Regions from separate parts of the Homo sapiens genome. Here region 2 is linked to region 1. Evidence: promoter capture Hi-C in 16 types of primary human blood cells and fetal thymus (Javierre and others, 2016). All regions are on one chromosome and are shown on one strand. The core of a region is centred on a gene start or on the middle of the fragment in contact, and the rest is flanking DNA. Distances in the headings are between cores, read along the strand shown. Region 1 overlaps ATP13A4 (ATPase 13A4). Region 2 holds the start of PLAAT1 (phospholipase A and acyltransferase 1).

Region 1 (5,446 bases), core at 1,529-4,028:
TCCCCATATTCTGGAAAATCTTCGAAACCAGACAATGCTCGGAGAACAGTACAGAGAGACAAGAAATAACTGCATAATAAGTACAATTATATTAATATGATCGAACCTTTAATATTTGCCAGGCATAGTGCCAAGGATTTTCTTACTGCATCATCTCATTTAATCCTCACAATCTCATTATGTAGATGCTATTATTAGCTTCATTGCACAGATGAGGAAACCAGCCTTAGATTGGTTTGCCCTTCACTACCAAATGTACTCCACATTGGAAACCTCACCTTTTATAAGAATTAGATAGCTCTGATATTGCCTATGTTGCTCTGGCATTGAAGAAGCTTCTCAGATTCTCTGAAGAGCAGAGGCTTACCCAGGTGGTGGCTTCAAACATTTTGAGGTCCAGAGGGTCTCCCTGGATGGTCCCATCAAGAAGGATCAGAGAGTGGCAGCTGGCCATCGCTGCACACAGTGGGCCCCATGGCAAAGCCTGGCCTGAGGCAAAGCTGTGAACTTCCTGAAAGCTTAAGGAGAAAAGGAAATGGGTTTCCATTCCATCGCCTCATGCCAAAACAGAGCATCTTGGAGGTGAACAAACATCTTTATAAAAAAATAATTTAATATGCTTTGTTGCATTAATAGCCACTCTCCAATCCTCCCACATTAATAGTGCTTCATTCAGCCAAGTAAGTTCACTGAGTATGAGAAAGGTCTCTGAGTTTTTTCTTTTTCTTTTGGATACAGGGTCTCACTCTATCACTCTGTCACCCAGGCTGGAGGAGGACAGTGGCGTGATCTCGATTCATTGCAACCTCTGCCTCCCAGGTTCTAGCGATTCTCCTGCCTCAGCCTCCTGAATAGCTGGAATTACAGGCAGCCACCACCATGTCAGGCTAATTTTTTGTATTTTTAGCAAGGATGGGGTTTCACCATGTTGGCCAGGCTGGTCTTGAACTCCCAACCTCAGCTAACCCACCTGCGTCGGCCTCCCAAAATGGTGGGATTACAGGCGTGAGCCACTGTGCCCGGCTAAAAACATTTTTCAAATGAACACTGCATCCCCCTCTTCCACCCTGGCCTCTTGTGTCCATATCCCAACCATTATCCCCATCATCTCATTTTAGATAAGAACATAGTCTCATCTAAAAAGCTATTAAAATACAACTCAAATGTCATATGCAGGCTTCCTTCACTAATTCAGAGTGGAGGCCATTAAGTTCAGCTTTGGCGTCACAAGAAGAATGTTGTCTGCAGCTTGGTTAGTCACAGCCCCTTCTCAAATGTGCAGCACAGGCGTTGGTTCTCAAAGCAGCTTACCCTATTAGGAGGACGTTTGAACGGTGGAAGCTTCATCCTACATTGGGGCAGAATCTGCTCCTGGGAGCCAGTAAGGGTCCACTTGCTCCCCCTCCTCCACATGCCAACTTCTTTCAAACTTAGGGATCAACTCTGCCGTCCCCTTCACCCTCTCTCCCTCTGGTGTCGCACAGGAACCTCCGGCTGTTCCTCTAATAACAGCTTGATCAGGCCTCCCTCTCACCTTCCTTATTCTTCTTTTTTGGAAAAGTTCCTAAATTTGTCATTGTCTGATCCTGGAGACCACATTTCAAGACAGACAATTACTTCTGATAATATGGACCCTGAATTTATTTAAAGATAACCTTAAGTTGCTGTAGCCCTTTGTTTTGAAAGCAAACACATCTCAGTGTTAACTCACAATTCAGCCACATGGCTTCCTGGCTTTTGCATTCAAGCTTCCTTTTGTCACACTAAGAGTTCAAAAATGTCCTGGCTTCATATTGACCCTGTTAGTTATACTTATTACTATGTCTTAAAAGAGCAGCTCATCTTGGTGGTTTACCACATACCCAATGGTATTTTAGTAAATATCTAAAAGGAAGAGACCACCAGCAGGACAGTTAACACAGAAACTTAAACGCACACTGAAAAGCAAAATACAGATCAGAAAAAAAATCTTATTTTTACTATGAGACGTACACTGTCACTAGTCCGTAATTCTGAGTGTATAATTCTGCATTCGAGAGGATTGGGCCAGACTCTGTTTAGCACAGCAAATACATAAAGCTCTCTATCATTCCTGTCCACCCATTTTTATCTGAGTATTTCTGGTTATCAATCCCTGATAGCCTTTAATAGTTCTTAAAGTATCTGACACAACAATCAGGGCTTTTTGGAAAGGAAGAAATATCAGAGATGAGCTCACCTTTAACAAGAAGGTATTGAATAGTCTATAAGTCAGGTGCTCACTTCTTACCTAGAATTAATTCTGTTTTGTTTCATTTTATTAATTAAATTTGTCATTTTTTATTTTAAATTGTTTTAATCATTGGAATTCAACTTTGATTGGAAGGCAGGAAGGCAGCAAGGCAGGAAGGAAGGAAGGAAGGAAGGGAGGGAAATGAATCATTTACCTAAACATTATATTAATTGTTATTCCTTAAATGTAACAAGTCACTTTTAGAAACAAAGTTTCCAAAGTTTTATGAATAGTTTGGTGTCAATGGAATAAGAAGAACATTCAAAAGACAGAACATATTGAGTTCATTTTAGATGAGCGATTACTGTGCACCTACTATTTGTGCCTAGTACAGAGCTACAGCACTTAGGATGCAAATCTAAATAAGAACAAGACTGCTCTCAAGATGCTCACATATTTGAACAAATGTACACATATTTTGCAGAAGCTGAAACAGAAAAACACTAATGAACCATGAGACAAAGTATATATCCAAATCTATCTTCTAGGAAAAATGAAAGAACTTTAGAGTTTAACACTTTCAGAGGCCTCTTCTGTACACTAAAGTGGTTAGAAGCACGAGGATCACTTTTTTAATCCAGGAATTAGACTTGTTTCTAGATAGCATTTTAATATGACAATTATTAAACTATGTGTAATTAACATTTTATGGATAAATTACATGTCATAATGCAAAAGAACCACAAAGAACCTTTCATGTACAAAATGCTTTGTGATTTAAGTTATAAGTGTTAGAGGAAAAAACTTTCATTTTCAAACAAAACATAAACGTCAAGTGCATCAGAGATTTCATGTTCTGATTCCACGGGAGTTCGTAGTGAGTTGAAAAAGCGGGCAGAGACGCAAACTCAAACATGGCCACAAGAGGGCCACAGGAGAGGACTGTGCAAATCTTTACCACACCATGCTGAGAACTGTCAAAACCGTCTTTTCTTGCTAGGAAAAAGGAGTTTCAGCCAAGTGCAGTGGCTGATGCCTGTAATCCCAACACTTCAGGAGGCCGAGGTGGACGGATCACCTGAGGTCAGGAGTTTGAGACCAGCCTGGCCAACATGGTGAAACCCCGTCCCTACTAAAAATACAAAAATTAGCCAGGCATGGTGGCAGGCACCTGTAATCTCAGCTACTCGGGAGGCTGAGGCAGGAGAATCGCTTGAACCCAGGAGGCGGAGGTTGCAATGCACCAAGATCATGCCACTGCACTCCAGCCTGGGCGACAAGAGTGAAACTCCGTCTCAAAAAAAAAAAAAAAAGAAAAAAGAGAGTTTCCAGCAGCCAGAAAGTAGAGTTCTCAAAATTTGAATACCAAGAAACATGAGTACACTAGCTACGGTTCTACAAATGTTCCTCTTCCTGAAATTCAGGGTACAAAAGTAAGAGCAGTGTCCTTCCTCCTAGCACATCAAGAGGCTTCAGCTTGAACAAAGAATGTTACCTCCTTAAAGGACAGTGTCCTGGTAATGTCTAAATTACTTATACTGCGTCAACTTCATGCTGGAAGCAAATTATATTTTAGCAAGGATTTGAATGCAGTGTCAAAGCTTCATCTCCAGGATTTGTGAGTGGCATGGGACTGGGTTGGGATGGGGGGAAATGTGTGTGTTTTAGGGAGGCTTTGAAGAATTAAAGATGAGAAGTTAAAAGAAGATACTTTGGCAATCATTGTCCACCAAAGCCAAAGTCCAAATGTCTCCATTCTTAATTTCAAGAGAAAACACGGAATTTTGGAAAAAGAGACACTAGAATGCATTTAGTCCAAGAGTCCAAGGTACTCACCCATTCCTATCACAGGACACGACTCCCCAGAGGTCCAAGCCGTCCCTTGTTAAGGTGCCTGTCTAAACAGAAACAAATGCTCCATTTACTCTGAAGATCCAGGCAAGGAGCGGTGGCTCATGCCTGTAATCCCAGCACTACGGGAGGCGGAGGCAAGAGGATCACTTGAACTCAGGAGTTTAAGACCAGCCTGGGCAACATAATGAAACCACCTCCCTATTTTAAAAAAAAAAAAATCCAGTGGCCCCATAGCGAAGACTCCGTAGTGCAGATAAATAAGGTATTTTTGTAATGAGAAAATACTTCACAAACATATTAACAAGATCAGCACTTCAAGGAGGGGCACAATGGGTGGGTCTCTGGAGTGCCCGTTGGAAGCGTTGATGAGCTCATGCCAGTTGTCTAACAAGCTGGCACTTAATCTTTTCAAACTTTAGTGTCCTCCATAACAACAACAAAAAAAGTATCTTCCTCACAACTTCAGAGGATTGTTTTGAGGATCTAATGGTAGACTGAATGGATGTGAAAGTCCTCGATATAAAATGGGTGAGTCCTAGTTTCATAGCAGAAGTTTAAAATATGTCATTAAAATAAGGAATAGAGTGAAATTTTTACCTGCAGGGCACTGTGAACAGACTCGAAAGAAATGGTTTGCTATTTGGTAAAAAAAAAAAAAAAAAAAAAAAAGGTGGTGGTATTTCTCTCAGTGCAATATTATGGTTAAGAATTCAGGTTAGGTTTAAACACCAGTTGTGTGACCAGAGCAAATTAATCCCCCTAAATATAAGAGCTCTTATCTGTAACATGGTCATAATCTCAGAGAGCTGTGGTGAAGATTAAATGGGATAACATAAAGTGTTTCATTTAATATCTAGCATACAGTAAAAGCTAATAATAATCATAATTATTCATAATTATTGCTCATTTTTTATACAAATTGAGGTCACAATTATCTCTCCCACTCCTGTTTCTTTTTCCAGGTCCGAGGATATAATCTCATAAATAGAATGTCATTTCTTACATTGCTAGTTTGATCACAAAATAATATACAAAATGGTGGCAAGAGTCATGTTGACTTTCTGTTCTTGGTAGATCTTTCTGATATTCCAATAACTATAAAATACAGCCCTGATCCCATTAATTCTCAACTATCAAAACCTTCAGTGTACTGTTGAATGAATATAGCTTCAGTTTGGGAAAATAAAAGAAGTTCTCAAAATGAATAGTAGTGATGGTTGCAGAACAGTGAGAAGGCACTTAATGCCAGTGAACAGTACACTTAAAAATGGCTAAAATAGTAAATTTTATGTTATGTGTATTTTACCACATTTAAAAAGTAAATTAAAGAAAGAAGTCAACAACAGCAACAAAAGCCTTCAAATAACCCTCCACTGCTTA
Region 2 (5,756 bases), core at 1,228-3,727, 220 kb before region 1:
TACTAGCTCACATAAAACGTAGCCAACCATCTCTGCATTATCTTGGCAAATATTTCAGTTATTTGTGCAGCTCTTTTATTTTTGTGGTTTTGAAAACCTATTAAAAAAAAGGTTTTTCTTTTGCTGTCTGATAAAAGAGGGAGTCTGGGTAGGGGAAGAGCTCTTGCCTAAGAGGCCTGACTTCAGTTCTACCCCAGGAGAACTGGAATACAGAGCTCCACATCTCAGGCCTCACACCAACTGCCAGGACTGAGCAGTCACAAGTTTGCTGAGAGGATCAAATGAGACAACAGAATCAAAGCGCTTTGCTAATTGTAAAATATGCACAAAACATATAGGGTTGTTTGAGGCCTCTGTCTAATATCACACAATGCCAATTGGTTTGAGTTTCCATGTGTTAAAAAGCCAATTGTAATTTTTGTTACCTTATAGGGCTTTTTCTGGAATGTGAACTTTATTCACTCAACAACAAACAGGACTAAGTCATCTCCATTATGCTTTTTTCAATATGTTTCAACTCTTACTATAAAATTAGGCAGCAACAGAGAATGCCAGCCACACAGGGCTTCACTTATAATGGCCAAAATAATAGGAACTGTTTATTTAAGTGTAATTTAACATCTGCTCCAATCATAGCCCCAGATTACAACTCTAGATTAAGACAAACTTTGCCTATTACTGCCCAAGGCTAAGTCCTCATTCTTTCTTAATGGAAATTTTAATTTTCCACTGCTCATCCGTAGAGTACCACCGATTGATCAACTCTCTCTCCAATCCATAGAAATGAAGAGAGAACTCAGGGCTCTCCTGAACTACAACGCTTTCTACATTTCTCCTATAAATTCCACGCAGGCATTGAATTGAATTTGTTCTTAACCAAATGCGTTTTATCTATACCTGGCAGGAATCTAGAAGTGAAATTACAAGATTTATTTCATTTTAATTCTATTATGAAGCATTTAATCACAAATACCCTGAAAATGAAAAGATAATTTATCATTTTACCTTGACTGAGCAACTCTCCTCACTTCACATTCATGAATCCATAACGCAGAGAGGAGACTGGATGATTAAGTGTTTGATTAGAGAAAACAGATTAACCTAGCAAACATAATAAATTTGGCTCATAAGCAGGATGGCTTTATAAATGCTCACAATACCTCTCCTGTATAAAATCATGAACCACTTCCTACAGTGATGACTCCATCGAAATAGTTGAGAAACATAAAGCAAATGCATGTTTATGGCTTTCTCTTTGAGACATTAAAAGGGTATTGAAAGGCATATCTGATTCAGCTTATAACTCTGGATATATATTAAGGAACATGTAAGAAAATATTAATGCATAAAAAAAGCTACAACTTCTCAAGTGTTCTAGTTTCCACTTTGTCAATAATTACGTTTTCAATGTCCTTCTGTGGACTGTTTCCAAAGGTGCCAATCCAGACCCAAAGTTTCAGATCACTCAGATTCACCCTTAACCTTCATAACACAACCCAATAGCTTTACGAAAAAAGTTGCATATTTAGGTAGTTGTTATCCCATTATGACAAAATACATAAAATTAGCGAGATATTTTTTAGCCTTCAAATAAGTGGGAAAAAATCCTTTTAGCTGAGATTCCATTTACATCAGAATAAAAATCTAAGTTATGACTAGGTTGAAGCAACGTCCTGTGCAGCGCTCCATAAAGTTCACTTAGTCTTCAAGGGTTCCTTACTTAGCTAGGTTAGTATTCCTGGCCTCTTTTTTTAGCAGTGAGAAAAAGGATACTCTCCCTGCCCCAGCTTTATTTTTAAACTCACAGCCATATCCTGGAGGTCTCTGCTGGCTATTTGGCGCGTGGGGGCGGAGGGGGGCCGGGGGAGGGGGGCGGGGCGGGGTCTGGAGGTCTGTGCTGGCTATCTGGCGTGTGTGTGTGTGTGTGTGTGTGTGTGTGTGGTTGGAGGTCTCTGCTGGCTATCTGGCGTGTGTGTGTGTGTGGTGTGGTGTGTGTAAGCAGTGAGGTTGTTTTAGGGCCAGTCCTTCCTCCGCCACTTTGCTGACTCAAAGACCCAGAGGCTTTCTTGGGGTGCAGGTACCATGATTCCTTGGGCCCTAAGGGAATTTTTGTTAGGCTAGAAGAGTGGGTGTACTCATGATGGGTGTACCCGAACATTCCTGGGCTCAACAAAACCGATTATCTTTATAACCGCGGCGCCTAGCACAGCGCCTGGTGCCCTAAACGTTGGCTGCGGGAACGTCCGAGACGCGGGTGCGGAGCCGGGGGCGGAATAACTGGTTGCGCGGCGCTTTGACCGTAGGCGCTGGAGCGCGTGCGTTGCGTGCGCGCGCGGAGGCGGCTGCGTCGGGGCGCGAGAAGGTGCAGTTCCCCGGCGGGCGGGCGGGCGGGCGGGCGAAGCTGGGCTCGGGGCCAAGCGAGGTCTAGCCGGAGCGACTGTGCCCCGCCTCCTGGGCGGAGCGGGCGGCTCCCCATGGTCAGAGCCTCGTGCCGGCTCGGCAGCGCCCGGACGCCGAGCCCAGCGCGTCGGCCCCCCGGCGTGCGGGCGTCTCAGAGCCGCGGAGGGGCCGCCGGGACCGTTTCAGCGTGGCGGCGCTGGTGCTGGCGTTGGCCCTGGAGGACGGCCCCGAGTGATGGCTGGCGCCTGCCTCCCGGGTGTCTCCCGGGTACAGATGGAGTCGTCCCGCGGCCGCCGGCGGCAAGGTCGGCAGCTGCGAGGCCAAGAGAGACCCCAGGACACACACAGCTGCCTCCCGGTGCGAGAAGAAGACCCCGGCTTGAGAGTGAGGTGTGCTGGGCGGAGTGGGGGAGGACCTCGAGGCGCCCCGGCAACCAACCGTGTTCTAACCAACTGGCAAGTGGGAAAAGTTGACATGACTAGAGAACAACGGAGCTTATCCACCCTCCTCTTTTTCACAGACTGGGGAACTCAGTCCACAGGGCAAGAGACTTTCTTCCCTAGGTTACACAGCTATTAAGTGGCAGAGCTGGGACTAGAAACCCAACCTGTTTAAGGCTTTTTAAGCCTACTGTCCTCACTGAAGTGAATATGAATAATAATACAAGTAATTATTATCGTATTGGATTTTGGAAAGTTGGATGGTGATATTCCTTTGGCATGCGAGACTATTAATATGACTCGTGCTGGAAAAAGTCACTCATGTTTTCTCTGGGCTTGGATTCCTCATTCCTTCATTCAATGAACATTTGCTCCGCAGTTACTTGTGCGAGGCACTCTCACCGGAGACTGAAGGTATAGAGCAAGCTTGTCCAACCCGTGGCTCACTAACCGCGTGCGGCCCAGGACAGCTTTGAATGCCGCCCAACACAAATTTGTAAATGTTCTTAAAACATTATGAGAGGTTTTTTTTTTGCGCTTTTTTTTTTTTTCTCATCAGCTATCATTAGAGTTAGTGTATTTTATGTGTGGCCCAAGACAGTTCTCCCAGTGTGGCTCAGGGAAGCCAAAAGATCGGACGCATGGTATAGAGAAAAACAAGAAGCATCCCTCCATAGCGTATGCCCCACAAGAGACAATTTCCCAGAGACCAGTAGCTGAGGCAGGTGTAGGAAGTGAATGGGCCATTAGATGGATGCCTGTGGAAGCTAAAGAAGGCGGATCGGAGGAAGACAATCCGACCTGGGGAGTGGAGGAGAGAGGGGGAGAAGGTGGCATCGACTTGGATTTTTTAAGATTGAGTCATTTGGGGCACTTGGAAATGGGCATTCTGGGTAGAAGGTTCAGTATTAACAAAAACAAAACAATACTCTTGAGTGGGAAGAATAATGGATAGTTTGATTTGCCTAGAATGTAGAGATTAATAAGGATGCCAGGATTCTAGGGCGGGGGACCAAGATGGGGAGTCAGTGGTGGGAAGCCCTGGAAGATTCCAAGCAAGGCATGACAGTGCTGTGGCAGCGGATAGTTAATTTGGCCAAGGAGTGGAACCCTCCTTTGTAGCGTGAGAGTGTTGGACCAAGGATCTTTGCAGCACTGAGAGTCTATGAATTAGCCAATCTGGGAATACAGGGCTTCATGGAAACATCACAGTGTAGGAGGATTATGGATGGAAAGTGCAGCTGGAATGGGAAAAGGTCGAAACCTAATTAGAAGCCTTGGGCCAGGGGTAGCCTGTGATCACCTGCGATTGTGTTTCAGACTTCCAGTAACATTCTTGGGAGTAGTTGTTAAAAAAGTGCTCTTCGTGTTTCTGTAACTTGGGTGGCCTCTTAGGCATGAGCAGACGTTCAGCCTGTCCCTATCGGCAGGGAACATTTATTTATTTTGATGCATCCCCAGGGACCAACAGAGAGCTATAAAGACAGCAGCCTGTTTTGCCAGTTGGCCAGTTGAAATGGGAAATTTCTTATACAAAGATTACAGACTTAACCTTCATGCCACTCTTTATTATAAACTGTTCATACAGTTCTTTGCAGATGGACTCAAAATGAAGCATTTTTTTACCTTAAAGATTGTAGTAGAGGATGTTATAAATGTGTCTTTAATTGGTTCTGTGTTTTCTCATACTTATGAAGCACTGCATTACACAATTTGTCTGAATGAAATTGGTAGATGTGGTCCATGTAAAACTTACCCAATCAGACAGGTTACAGATATTTGCCTAAAATCTGAGCCTGGGCACCTTAGAGATATTCTAACCTCACCCGGAAACTCCGCAACTGGAAAGGTGCAGGGATTCTGGAGCGAGGTTCCACTTCACATTATCTTCTGGTTCTGCATATGAATATTTAAAAACTTCCTGTGGTGTTATATGAAATATGTATTTGCATGCTTTTGCAGCTGCTCCATCTAATAGTATTTGAGAAGGGGAAAAAATGAAATGTTGCTTAGTAGAAATTCCTTTGGTTAATGATGTTAATCAATGGTATAAAAAAGGAGCATGAACTCTGGAATAAGAAGGGACACCTGAAATTGAATTCCAGTTGTGTCGCTTACTACCTGTGCGACTTTAGGTCTGGCACTTAACTCATCTGAGTCTCAGTTTCCTCATCTGTAAAATGGTCACCACAATAATCAGCTCGCAGTCTAACAGAACAACCTGTCACCACTAGAATCCCACTTGTTGGCCTTTTATAGCCACACCTACTTCCCTCCCACTGCCTCCTCCACTTCCTTAACTCATAGCAACCACTGTGTGTTCACTATCTTTTTAAATAATTGTATCATTTCAAGAATGTTATAAAAATGGAATGATATAGTGTGTGACCCTTTGGCATTGTGTGTTTTTATTTTTTCCACTAAGTATAATTCTCTAGAGGTACATTCAGGTTGTCGCATATGTCAATAGTTTTTTCCTTTATTCCTAAGTAGTATTCCATGGTAGGCCTGCACACAGTTTTTTATTTTTTAATTTTTTTAACCACCCTTTGAAGGTCATCTTGGTTGTTTCCACTTTTGGGATATGATGAATAAAGCTGCTATAAGCTTTTGTGTGCAGGTTTTTGGGTGGCTATAAATCTTCATTGTCTTTATTCTCAGGGGTAAATGCCTAGAAGTACAGTTGCTGGATTATATAGTAGTTACAAGCTAAACTTTTAAGGAAGTTGCCAGACTGCTTCCAGAGTAGCTACACATTCCCACCAGCAGTGAATGAGTGATCCAGTTAATGACAATGATGACTCTGCATCATTGTCAACATTTGATGTTGTCACTGTTTTTTATTTTAGCTATTCTGTTAGATGTATAATGATATCTCATTTTGTTTTTTTTTTTTAAATTGACAATGATTTATAT

Evidence for each region. The method cuts DNA at HindIII sites, captures the fragments that hold promoters and counts their contacts. A CHiCAGO score of 5 or more calls a contact.
Region 2: a contact is called between the fragment with the promoter of PLAAT1 here and a fragment that was not itself captured in region 1, in 1 of 17 cell types (endothelial precursors). The highest score is 5.1, in endothelial precursors.

What each region holds. Positions count from the first base shown.
Region 1 is chr3:193,458,714-193,464,159 of GRCh38, forward strand. ATP13A4 (ATPase 13A4) reads right to left here. Exons shown (of 30, transcript NM_032279.4): 13 at 4,049-4,110; 14 at 368-518. Among named protein-coding and RNA genes, the nearest start is that of ATP13A5, 83 kb to the left of the region's middle. The HindIII fragment of the contact is 2,065 bases long and covers 1,747-3,811 here.
Region 2 is chr3:193,238,745-193,244,500 of GRCh38, forward strand. PLAAT1 (phospholipase A and acyltransferase 1) reads left to right here and starts at 2,478. Exons shown (of 4, transcript NM_020386.5): 1 at 2,478-2,789. MGC2889 (a long non-coding RNA gene) reads left to right here and starts at 3,035. Exons shown (of 1, transcript NR_026877.1): 1 at 3,035-5,228. LOC105374280 (a long non-coding RNA gene) reads right to left here and starts at 2,279. Exons shown (of 3, transcript XR_924833.3): 1 at 2,151-2,279; 2 at 1,006-1,101. RefSeq lists a silencer at 2,380-2,629. The HindIII fragment of the contact is 3,333 bases long and covers 1-3,264 here.